Linked DNA regions of Homo sapiens: region 2 is linked to region 1. Evidence: promoter capture Hi-C in human tissues and cell types (Jung and others, 2019). All regions are on one chromosome and are shown on one strand. Each heading gives the region's core, a stretch centred on a gene start or on the middle of the fragment in contact. The rest is flanking DNA. Distances are from core to core; before and after follow the strand shown. Region 1 holds the start of ITFG2 (integrin alpha FG-GAP repeat containing 2). Region 2 has its middle 7.1 kb from the start of MIR3649.

Region 1 (5,530 bases), core at 3,031-5,530:
TATGGAGATTTCTATTGTTTGTAAAGAATATGCCACTCATATAACTGTATCCATGTCACCTAACCAGGAAGATACCCTAATTAGACAGTTTTGGGGAGCAAGACAAAAACCAGCAGAAAGAGTGCTTGGCTTAGACAAGATGGAGTTTAGATGGTGCCCAAAGAGACCTAGCAACCTTCCAACTAGAAAGGGGCCAAGACCAGGAGTGCTCTTTGTGGAGCCAGGGATCTGTCCATATGGCTTGACAATGCCTAGTCATACAAAACACTCACTGGACTTAAAGTAACTGATGCAAGGTGGGGAGAGGCACAGGCATGGAAGGACTTCACTTGTGCCCTATTTCTTGGAGACCTATCTTTCCTGCCTAACTTTATTTGGCTCTCTTGACAAAAGCCAAAAAGTGTGGTATAGAAGTTGTGATCATACGTCTAGGCATGGTGGCCTGTAATCCCAGCACTTTGGGAGGCCGAGCACTTTGATCACCTGAGGTCAAGAGTTCAAGACCAGCCTGGCCAACATGGTGAAACCCTGTCTCTACTACAAAAAAAATTATCTGGGCATGGTCGTGGACACCTGTAATCCCAGCTACTCGGGAGGCTGAGGCAGGAGAATCGCTTGAACCCGGGAGGCGGAGGTTGCGGTGAGCCAAGATCGCACCATTGCACTCCAGCCTGGGCAAGAAGAGTGAAACTCAAAAAAGTGAAAAAGAAGGCCAGACACAGTGGCTCACGCCTGTAATCCCAGCACTTTGGGAGGCTGAGGTGGGTGGATCATGAGGTCAGGAGATTGAGACCATCCTGGCTAACACAGTGAAACCCATTCTCTACTAAAAATACAAAAAATTAGCCGGGTGTGGTGGCGGGTGCCTGTAGTCTCAGCTTCTCGGGAGGCTGAGGCAGGACAATGGCGTGAACCCGGAGGGCAGAGCTTGCAGTGAGCTGAGATCGTGCCACTGCACTCAGCCTAGGCGACAGAGCGAGACTCCATCTCAAAAAAAAAAAAAAGTAAAAAAGAAGTTGTGATCATAATTACATGACCTTCATGGCAAACATATTCTACAATTAAAAACAGACACCCCGTGTCACAGAAAGATCCAGACCAAGAAACCCAAATGATGAGGAAGATAAAACTAAGGCACTGGGGAATCCTGGGTTGGGGTCTGATCTTAGATAACTGGGTCAGGCCAAGGCACCTGATGAAAGAAGCTGGGTGATCTCATCTCTTGTTCTGAGTTATTTAGTAATATATTTTTTTAAAACCACTTCAGAGGCCGGGCGTGGTGGCTCATGCCTATAATCTCAGCACTTTGGGAGGCCGAGGCAGGCAGATCACAAGGTCAGGAGTTCAAGACCAGCCTGGCCAATATGGTGAAACCCCGTCTCTACTAAAAATACAAAAACAATTGGCTGGGCGTGGTGGCAGTCTCCTGTAGTCCCAGCTACTCAGGAGGCTAAGGCAGGAGAATCGCTTGAACCCGGGAGGCGGAGGTTGCAGTGAGCCGAGATCGTGTCATTGCACTCCAGCCTGGGTGACAGAGGGAGACTGCCTCAGAAAAAAAGAAAGAAAGAAAGAAAAAACCATTTCAGAGGTAAAGTTTTTTTTTTTTTTTTTTTTTTGGAGACAGAGTCTCACTTTCACCCAGCCTGGAGTGCAGTGACACCACCTTGGCTCACTGCAACCTCTGCCTCTTGGGCTCAGGAGATCTTCCCGCCTCAGCCTCCTGAGTAGCTGGGACCACAGGCATGCACCACTATGCCCAGCTAATTTTTGCATTTTTGGTGGAGTCATGGTTTTGCCATGTTGTCCAGGCTGGTCTTGAACTCCTGAGCTCAAGTGATCTGCCTGCCTCAGTCTCCAAAAGTGCTGGAATTACAGGCATGAGCCTCCACAGCCAACCTAGAGGTGAACATTTTGATACTGGTTTTGGTTTTCCCACCCCTTAAAGGCCTAATATGAAGCTTAGGATTTGAACTAGGATGAGAGAATAGAGATGGGGTAGAACACGGGGTGAGGGAGCATGCAACTGCTCTGTAAATGAGAAAATGTATTCAAAGCACCAGGAATACCTGTGGGACCCAGTGCCTTTTAATGGACCTGGCCATCCCACAGTACACAACCAGAAATATGAACTTGTAACACAGTTCAGCTTCAGAATATATCTGCAGTCTCCAGTATTTGTCCAGACTTCCTCCAGTTTACTGTTCTGACCTGCTGTTCTTTCTTACCTGGCTGTCAGATCCACTGGGACATCTAGGAAAAAATCTGCCACCCCCTTCCCCCAAGAAAAGGTCTTGCCCTCCAGCCTCCTCCCACTATGTACAGACATAGAAAGTAGGGACAAGCCGGGCATGGTGGCTCACGCTTGTAATCCCACCTACCTGGGAGGCTGAGACACAAGATCTCGAGCCTGGGAGGCGGAGGTTGCAATGAGCCCAGATCGCACCACTGCACTCCAGAGCAAGACTCTCAAAGAAAAAAAAGAAAGAAAAAGAAAAAAGGGGCCGGGCGCAGTGGCTCACGCCTGTAATTCCAGCACTTTGGGAGGCCGAGGCGGGCAGATCAAGAGGTCAAGAGATCAAGACCATTCTGGCCAACATGGTGAAACCCCGTCTCTACTAAAAGTACAAAAATTAGCTGGGCGGCCGGGCGCCGGTGGCTCATGCCTGTAATCCCAGCACTTTGGAAGGCCGAGGCGGGTGGATCACGAGGTCAGGAGATCGAGACCATCCTGGCTAACACGGTGAAACGCCGTCTCTACTAAAAATACAAAAAATTCTCCTTGAGTGGTAGCGGGCGCTTGTAGTCCCAGCTACTCCGGAGGCTGAGGCAGGAGAATGGCTTGAGCCCGGGAGGCGGAGCTTGCAGCGAGCCGAGATCGCACCACTGCACTCCAGCCTGGGTGACAGAGCGAGACTCCGTCTCAAAAAAAAAAAAAATTAAATTAAATTAAATTAAAAATTAGCTGGGCGTGGTGGCGCTCGCCTGTAGTCTCAGCTACTCGGGAGGCTGAGGCAGGAGAACTGCTTGAACCTGGGAGGCAGAGGTTGCAGTGAGCCGAGATTGCGCCACTGCACTACAGCCTGGGCAACAGAGCGAGACTCTGTCTCAAAAAAAAATAAAAATAAAAATAAAAAAAAAAAAGATAAAAAGGAACAGCCCCTGGTCCAAAATCCCAGATAAGGTAGAATCATTTTTTTTTTTTTTTTGAAACACCAAGTGCGAGTCAGCCTGGGTTTTTAGACCTAAATCTAAAAATGTATTGAACACCTGTATGATTTCATAAATATTGCCCTGATTGACGAGGCACCCCAAAGAAAGGCAGAACTGGATTCAACATGGAAAGAAAGTATCCCAAGAAGCCAGCCATGAGAGTGACAGTCCCATCTGTGCTACAAGAGTAAGGCTACTGAGGTTGAGATGCAAGAGCTTTGTGCTGGGGGGCCACAAGACAGAGCAGATCCGGAATCCAGGCAACCTTCACTTCCAGCCTGAAGACTCTCCTACGAACTATGATAGTAAATGATGGAGAGGCCCTAGGGTTTGGGATCAAACAATTCTGGTTTGAGCACGCACCCCGCCCCACAATCCTTCCTTCTGCCATTTTACTTAATCTTGCTGAACCTGTTTTCCTCAGCCAAAAAAAAAAAAAGCTCGCATAGTGGCTGAACTAATTATGTGAAATATGTGAAATGTGCTTTGCAGCAGGTGGCTTTTAAACTATTGACCAGAAAACACATACACTGAAAAAAAAAATTTTTTTTACATTATAAGCCAGTATACACATATAAGTATATACAATTGAAACAAGAGTTTCACAAAAACTGTACTTACCTTACTACCTGGGAGTCACTTGGTATATTACTATTGTATTTAATTTTTTATATGCTGATTGCAACTCACTACATTGTTTTCACTCCTAATGGGTAGTTTTTTAAAAACACTTTTCAAAACCATGCAATTATCAGTTATTACGAAGATTAGTAAGATTCTCAGGAATGGTCTGATGGCTAGGAATCTTCATTGCCAGGGAAACAAAGGAAAAAGGTCAAGGTTATTAGGTCAAGCCCTTGGGAGCCCTGTTGCCAAGGGAACAGATCGACCCCCGTCAGGGTTGGTTTACCCACGGTCTGCAGCCCTGTGGAGAAAAGGAGTGGCCCGTGGGCCTGTCACTCACATCAGAGTTGGGAAGCCCGCCTCCAAGCCCGGAAGACCCGCCTCCTCTGTAAGGTTAAAGGAGGAAGAGGCAGAGATTGGAGGTTCAGGCAGTGACGTAACTTGCTGCCTTAGGTGGCCTTCCGCTCTGGCGGCTGTCGCGACGGGGGTTCAGGGAATATTTACTGGGCCTCTCCGCTCCCTCTGCTCTTGGAGGTGCCATGAGGTCAGTTAGCTACGTGCAGCGCGTGGCGCTGGAGTTCAGCGGGAGCCTCTTCCCGCACGCAATCTGCCTCGGAGACGTTGATAACGATACGGTAGGTGCATGCGCACCGCAAGAGACAGCCTGGATCTGTGCAGGGACGGGGCAAGGGAAGTGGAAGAGGCCGCCCGAGCGTGCCACGTGAGCGTGAGCATGCGCGCTGTGGCTAGTTTGGAGCGCTAGAGAGAAAAACTTTATTGATAGCTTCAGTGTTCGTGGTTGGTTTTGTTCCTTGGGAGGTTTTGTTTGTTTTTTGAGACAGGCTCCGTCTGTCACCCAGGCTGGAGTGCAGTGGCTTGATTTCGGCTCACCGCAACCTCTGCCTCCCGGGCTCGAGCGATTCTCCTACCTCAGCCTCCCAAGGGGCTGGGATTACAGGCGCCCGCCACCACGCCCGACTAATTTTTGTGTTTTTAGTAGAGGTGGGGTTTCACCATGTTGGCCCAAAGTGCTGGGACTACAGGCCTGAGCCATCGTGCCCAGCCCTTCTCGTTTTTTAAATAAATTACCACAGGTCAAGCAGGTAAAACAATGCCTGGCACACAGTTTAGTGCTCACTTAAGTGTTAGTGGTGGTGGTGGTGGTGTTAGTATTTTATTCTGTTTTTCTGCAAATCTTTACTGAACTGCTCATTATGCACCAAGGACTCTGCTACATTCTAGGAATTCAAAAATGAACGAGAGAGTTCCAGTCCTCAGATAGCTCATAATCAAGCTGTGTAATAGTCACCGGATAATAAAATGTAATGAGATGCATTGACTAAAGTATGGAGAGGATTCTCCGGTGGAGCATTAAAGGGAATAGTGTCTGATGCTCTTTTTTTTGCAGACTTTATCTTTTCATTTATCATCTATTTCATAGTTCTAATGCAAAGCACTGTATTGCCCCCTTCTACCCTCTGCCCTATCTTCCTACTCGGCCTCCCTGCTTCACAGTTCCTTAACTGTCCTGTACTTATTTCCCACCGCCCCCTAGTGCTGTGATGCAGAAGGTATCTTATGAGGCCTTTTTTGGCTCTACCCTCTCTGGGGAGGAAAGAGTTATTCTCATAAATTTGTGTTATGTTTTCTGGGCTTTCGTGTTTCTTCATGAACTGCCAAGCAGTCCAATTTTATG
Region 2 (5,303 bases), core at 2,147-4,646, 1.2 Mb before region 1:
TTGCAGAGTTTGGGCATTCCTCACGTAGATTCTCCAGTCCTTGCTTCCTCCCTCTTGCTGCAGGCCTTTTGGTCTTCATGCTGCTCATTTGCAGCCCTACCAGAAGCAGCAGTAGAAGACAGAGCTGAATCAGTTAATTTAGGCCTTCTAAGTCGTTGTGATAAACAACTGGGTGGGAGGAGGGATGGTTCCAATGAGATTTTAAGAATTACAGATGTATGTGTATTATCTGCTGCTCCACAGGAGAACTGAAAATAGACTGAAAGCTGCTCACAGCCAAAGCCAGAAGGAAACTGCAGTATTGACAGAGAGAGAGAAAGAGAGAGAAAGAAACAGACTCAAATCACTCGGGGCAAGAGAGGGTTTGCTGGTGTGGAAACCGGGTGGTGGGGAGGCTTTCAGCAGAATATCAGGAGGGGACTTCAGCAGGGACCCAAGGAAAGACGTGAAAGAACAGACACTATAGAAAAGGTGAACCCTTTTGATCCAATCTCACTGTAAAGCCAAAAGGAGTGAGTACTGTTTGAAGTGACCCTGGCCTCATTCCATATTGGTGCTCTGCCTGTTGGGTCAGCCAGCTCTTCGGCTGGTCCCTGATTTGGAAGTTACGTCTTTCGTATATTTATTTCCAGAGACTTCTTAGCAGCAGTTACGTTTCATAAGGGAAGTTTTGATACCTCTTTTGTTCCCTGCTATGTCTGCCATCACCCACAACAGTGCCTAGCACAAAGAAAGCACTCAATAGATATTTGCTGAGTGAATGAATGAATGATGTTTCTTCATGAACAGACAAGGAAACTGAGGCATAATGTGATTAACTGCGTGGTCCATCATATCATTTGTTCTATCAAAATTGCAAGTAATAGAAACCAATTTGAGTCAGATTATGAAGAAGGAGTATGACATGAGGGTCCCAAGAGTCTCAAAGACGCCAGGGTCTTCAGGAGCTGACCTGGACACCTCTGGATCCCTCTCCCTTCCTCCTCTCTCCTCTGAGGTCTCTCTCTCTCTCTCTCTCTCTCTCTCTCTCTCTCTCACAGTTCCAGCCCCAGGAAGGGACTCTGAATCTCTCCTGGTCCTTGTCCCAGATTCCCAGGAGGGGCTTCTGGTCAGGGCTCTGTCCACCATTGCATGACTTTGCAGCAGTTCAAGTCAATGAGTGGAGGGGCTGAAGAACTCATCAAGGTGAGAGGAACTGCTCACGTTCTCATAAATTTCTCGGCGGATGGTTAGATCCAGAGAACACATAATCCAGTTGGTGTGAATGAGACCCCTAAGTATTTACTCTGGAAATTCTCATGATAGCTTTACTGAGGAGTCTTTTATCTGTGAAAATGCATAATTATGGAACAAGTCCTGAGGATTGTCTAAAATAAGGAAAAACCTGAGCCCACTAGTGTGAAGAGGAAGGCTTCTGTTCTCTGAATAACCCAGGATAGGACACACACCCATTCATCTACCTTGCAGGGTTCAGGCAGCCAAGTTGCTAAGAAGCAGAGAATAGACTAGAGTCAGTGACAGCCCCTGGCTGGTATTCTGCCCTGCAGGTGCATTCATTTTTCAATACTGAGCTGTATTTGAAGGCCAGTCATCCCTGTGGATGATTTAAAGGTATCTTCCCTCTGACAGGACCACTCTACAGTATCAATTGCTTCCTTCATACATTTTCCTCATTCTTCAAGGTCTGAGCATGCCAAAAAGTAAGACCTGAGAGGGGTAAGGGTTGCCAGGATGTTTCTGCAAATCTTCCACGGCTCTTGGGGGCACCCAGCAGGCATTTGAAAACTGACTTACAGCCGGGTGTGGTGGCTCACGCCTGTAACCCCAGCACTTTGGGAGGCCAAGGCAGGCGGATCACCTGAGGTCAGGAGTTCGAGACCAGCCTGGCCAACATGGTGAAACCCCGTCTCTACTAAAAAATACAAAAATTAGCCGGGCGTGGTGGTGGGTGCCTGTAATCCCAGCTACTTGGGAGGTTGAGGCAAGGAGAATCGCTTGAACCCGGGAGGCGGAGGTGGCAGTGAGCTGAGATGGCACCATTGCACCTCCAGCAGCCTGGGCAAATACAGCGAAACTCTGTCTCAAAAAGAAGAAAGAAAGAAAGAAAGAAAACTGACTTACGCCCTGTGGCTGGCCTTCTTTTGTCCTTTTTGTTTTGACAGCAAAAGCCATATAGACCTTGAATGCTATGACAGGCAGGACACGTCTGTGAAATAGGAAATAATTACACTCACGCTTTTTAGGTGCTATGTTTCCTTCCTCATTTTATTTTCTAACATGCAAGTAAACTTTTTAATGGACCTAACGTCTCATCTGACAGATATCACGGCCTTAGGTCGGAGCAAATGATCAGCCTGGAACCCACTCCAGACTGGTCTGCAGTTCTGCATGTGACCACACAGTGTCGCTATCTTCTCAGTTCTAGCCGAATAGCTCTGGCCCGCACCTTGGTTCAAAAAAACATTTTTTTTTTTTTTTTTTTGGCTGGGCGCGGTGGCTCACACCTGTAATCCCAGCACTTTGGGAGGCCGAAGCGGGGGGGGGGGGGGATCACTTGAGGTCAGGAGTTCGAGACCAGCCTGGCCAACAAGGTGAAACCCTATCTCTATTAAAAATACAAAAAAATTAGGCAGGTGTGGTAGCCTGCACCCCCGTAATCCCAGCTACTGAGTAGGCTGAGGCAGGAGAATCGCTTGAACTGGGAGGGAGAGGTTGTGGTAAGTGGAGACCATGCCACTGCACTCCAGCCTGGGCGACAGAGCAAGGCTCTGTCTCAAAAAAAAATTGTAAATTTAAAAAAAAGTTGGGTGGTGTGTCCTTGCGGATTGATGGCAGAAAACAGAATCTGGAGAGCAGCAAAGCTGAGTTCTAGATTTTTCATTTGGATAAATGTGGGAAGAATTAGGTCAGTCTTATTTTACTTAGTTTTAAAAGAATGAGTGAGGAGGGCAATGCAGTTAGGAAAGAAAACATGAAAGGAATGCCTTGTCCTGCTCGGCTGGACCCTCAAGACACCCACAGTACTTTTCATGCTTGAAGATTATGATGAAGGAGGTGAGTAATAATTATAGCTACCATTTATTGAGTACTACTGTGTACCAGCTGCTTTACATACATTACATGTAATCCTCTCAGGGCCTCTGCAGTGTAGCCAATATTATCCACGTGTTTCAGATGGGAAAGCTAACACTCAGAGTGGTGAAGCGGCATCCCTCACCTCACACAGCTAGTAATTCATGCTGACTCCAGACCTCTTTCAGGTGGATTTCTGGGTAAGGAATCTGGTCAGCTGAAATAACAGGTGCCCATTTCCTTCTAAGTCTCAGGGAGTGTACAATAATCTTCCTCGTCTTGCCACCATGAATGTTGAATGAGAAGAGTGACTAGAGAGATTTCATTTGGTAGGGGCATATGGCAGGGGGAACTTGGGGATCCCAAATCTAAAGTAAACAGGCAAGGTGCGGTGGCTCATGCCTGCAATCCCAAGATTTTGGGGGTGCTGAGGCAGGGGGATCACTTGAGACCAGGAGTTTGAACCAGCCTGAGCAACACAGTGAGACCCTGTTTCCACAAAAAAAAAAAAAAAAAAAAAAAAAAGGCTGAATGCAGTGGCTTATGCCTGTAATCCCAGCCCTTTGGGAGGCTGAAGTAGACGGATTGCATGAGTCTAGGAGTTCGAGACCAGCCTGGGCAACATAGTGAGACCCTGTCTCTATTAAAAAAACACAAAAAATTAGCTGGGCATGGTGGTGCCTGCCTGTAGTCCCAGCTACTCAGGAGGCAAAAGTGGGAGGATCACCTGAGCACAAGAGTTCGAGGCTGCAGTGAGCCATGATCACGCCACTGCATTCCTTCCAGCCTGGGTAACAGTGAGACCCTGTATAAAAAAAAAACCAGGCATGGTGGCACATACCTGTAGTCCCAGCTACTGGCCGGGGGTGAGGTGGGAGGATTGCTTGAGCCTAGGAGTTCAAGGCTATAGTGAACCATCATCGTGCCACTGCACTCCAGCCTGGGGTTACAGTGAGACCCTGTCTCAAAAAAAAAAAAAAAAAAAAAAGGAAACAGATAATGCATACAGGGCTAAACAGCATAGAAAATGCTACAAAAGTTGAAGATAGTATATTGATGTACATATTGAAGCAAAGAGAAAACTGGGGCCTTGGACGATGGAACTAGATGAGTAAGTCACATTCGGTAGGGAATTTAGAGCTGGTGCCTGGGGGCTTCATTTTACAAGACAGCCATGGGTATTCTCTACCACATGCTTCCCTCGAATTTACTCAGAGGGAAGCCCTCTCTCCACTGGCTTTCCCAGGCGTTAGGAGTCAATGGTTTTGAATAAGAGTGAAGATTAAAATTCAGCAGAGCTCCAAGCATGTCTGATCTTGAGCGGACAGGACCATGGACTAAGCTTCTGAACTCCCTTTTCCAATCTGCTCTTCCGGCCTCTTGATCTCTGTGCCAGGACTCAACTCCATCACAAATGCATAATTCCTATCACAAGGAGACAACCGTAAATATATTTGAATTAAGTGACATGTTTTCAGCTTCTCAAAGGCCCCATCCCTAAACTCAGTGTGGCCCTGGCCCTGTGACATGCTGGCGATGCAGTCCCACCAGGCACAGCACTGAAACTGCATGTCGTGCTGGAACAGGGGACTCTACCAGAGGCTCTGCTGGGACAGAAGGTAGGAAGCAGAAGCAGGTATTGGGATTCCATAGGAGAATGCAGTGCTCGCTTCCTGGTGTACCCACCGAGGAGGCAAGGGAAGGAGCAGTGACTCCTGTCTTTCTGTGACTCAGCTCCCGCCTGGGGCTTCTGGGTTCAGAGCAGGGGAGTGGAGGGATGTGGGTCTTAGATGAGAGAGGTGGAATGAGCAGCTCTTGGGACTCCTCATGGCCCCACAGTCTCTACCTGCTCAGAGAAAAATGAGCCCAGGTGATGGGAGGAGGTGTTCATATGTTATGGGAGAGGGAGGGTGACTGGGTGTGGCGCAGAGCTTGGGCTGCACCTGGCTACCTCGGTCTGAGGAGTCTCAAGTGCTACCTAATGTGTGGCAGTGGGGACAGAGGTGGGTTTTTTCCCCTTTTGTGGTGCTGGTAAGGAGGGAGCTCATGCATTCTAGGCACTGGTTCCATCCCTTCATCTGGCTAAATCAAATCATCTGGGGAGATTTAAAAATTCAGAGTCTGCCAGCCACCGTGACTCACGCCTAGAATTCTAGCACTTTGGGAGGCTGAGGCAGGAGAATCATTTGAGTTCAGGGGTTTGAGGCCAGCCTGGGCAACATAGTAAGACC

The links. The method cuts DNA at HindIII sites, captures the fragments that hold promoters and counts their contacts. A contact is called where the count stands out against the background at its distance.
Region 2: a contact is called between a fragment that was not itself captured here and the fragment with the promoter of ITFG2 in region 1, in 1 of the 25 tissues and cell types used here (spleen).

Annotation. Positions count from the first base shown.
Region 1 is chr12:2,808,388-2,813,917 of GRCh38, forward strand. ITFG2 (integrin alpha FG-GAP repeat containing 2) reads left to right here and starts at 4,281. Exons shown (of 12, transcript NM_018463.4): 1 at 4,281-4,469. The coding sequence starts at 4,374. It overlaps ITFG2-AS1 (ITFG2 antisense RNA 1), which reads right to left and starts at 4,537. Exons shown (of 4, transcript NR_146317.1): 1 at 4,175-4,537. RefSeq lists enhancers at 3,828-4,577, 4,308-4,557 and a silencer at 4,108-4,197. The HindIII fragment of the contact is 16,489 bases long and covers 1-5,530 here.
Region 2 is chr12:1,650,606-1,655,908 of GRCh38, forward strand. No RefSeq gene overlaps it. Among named protein-coding and RNA genes, the nearest start is that of MIR3649, 7.1 kb to the right of the region's middle. The HindIII fragment of the contact is 3,937 bases long and covers 1,429-5,303 here.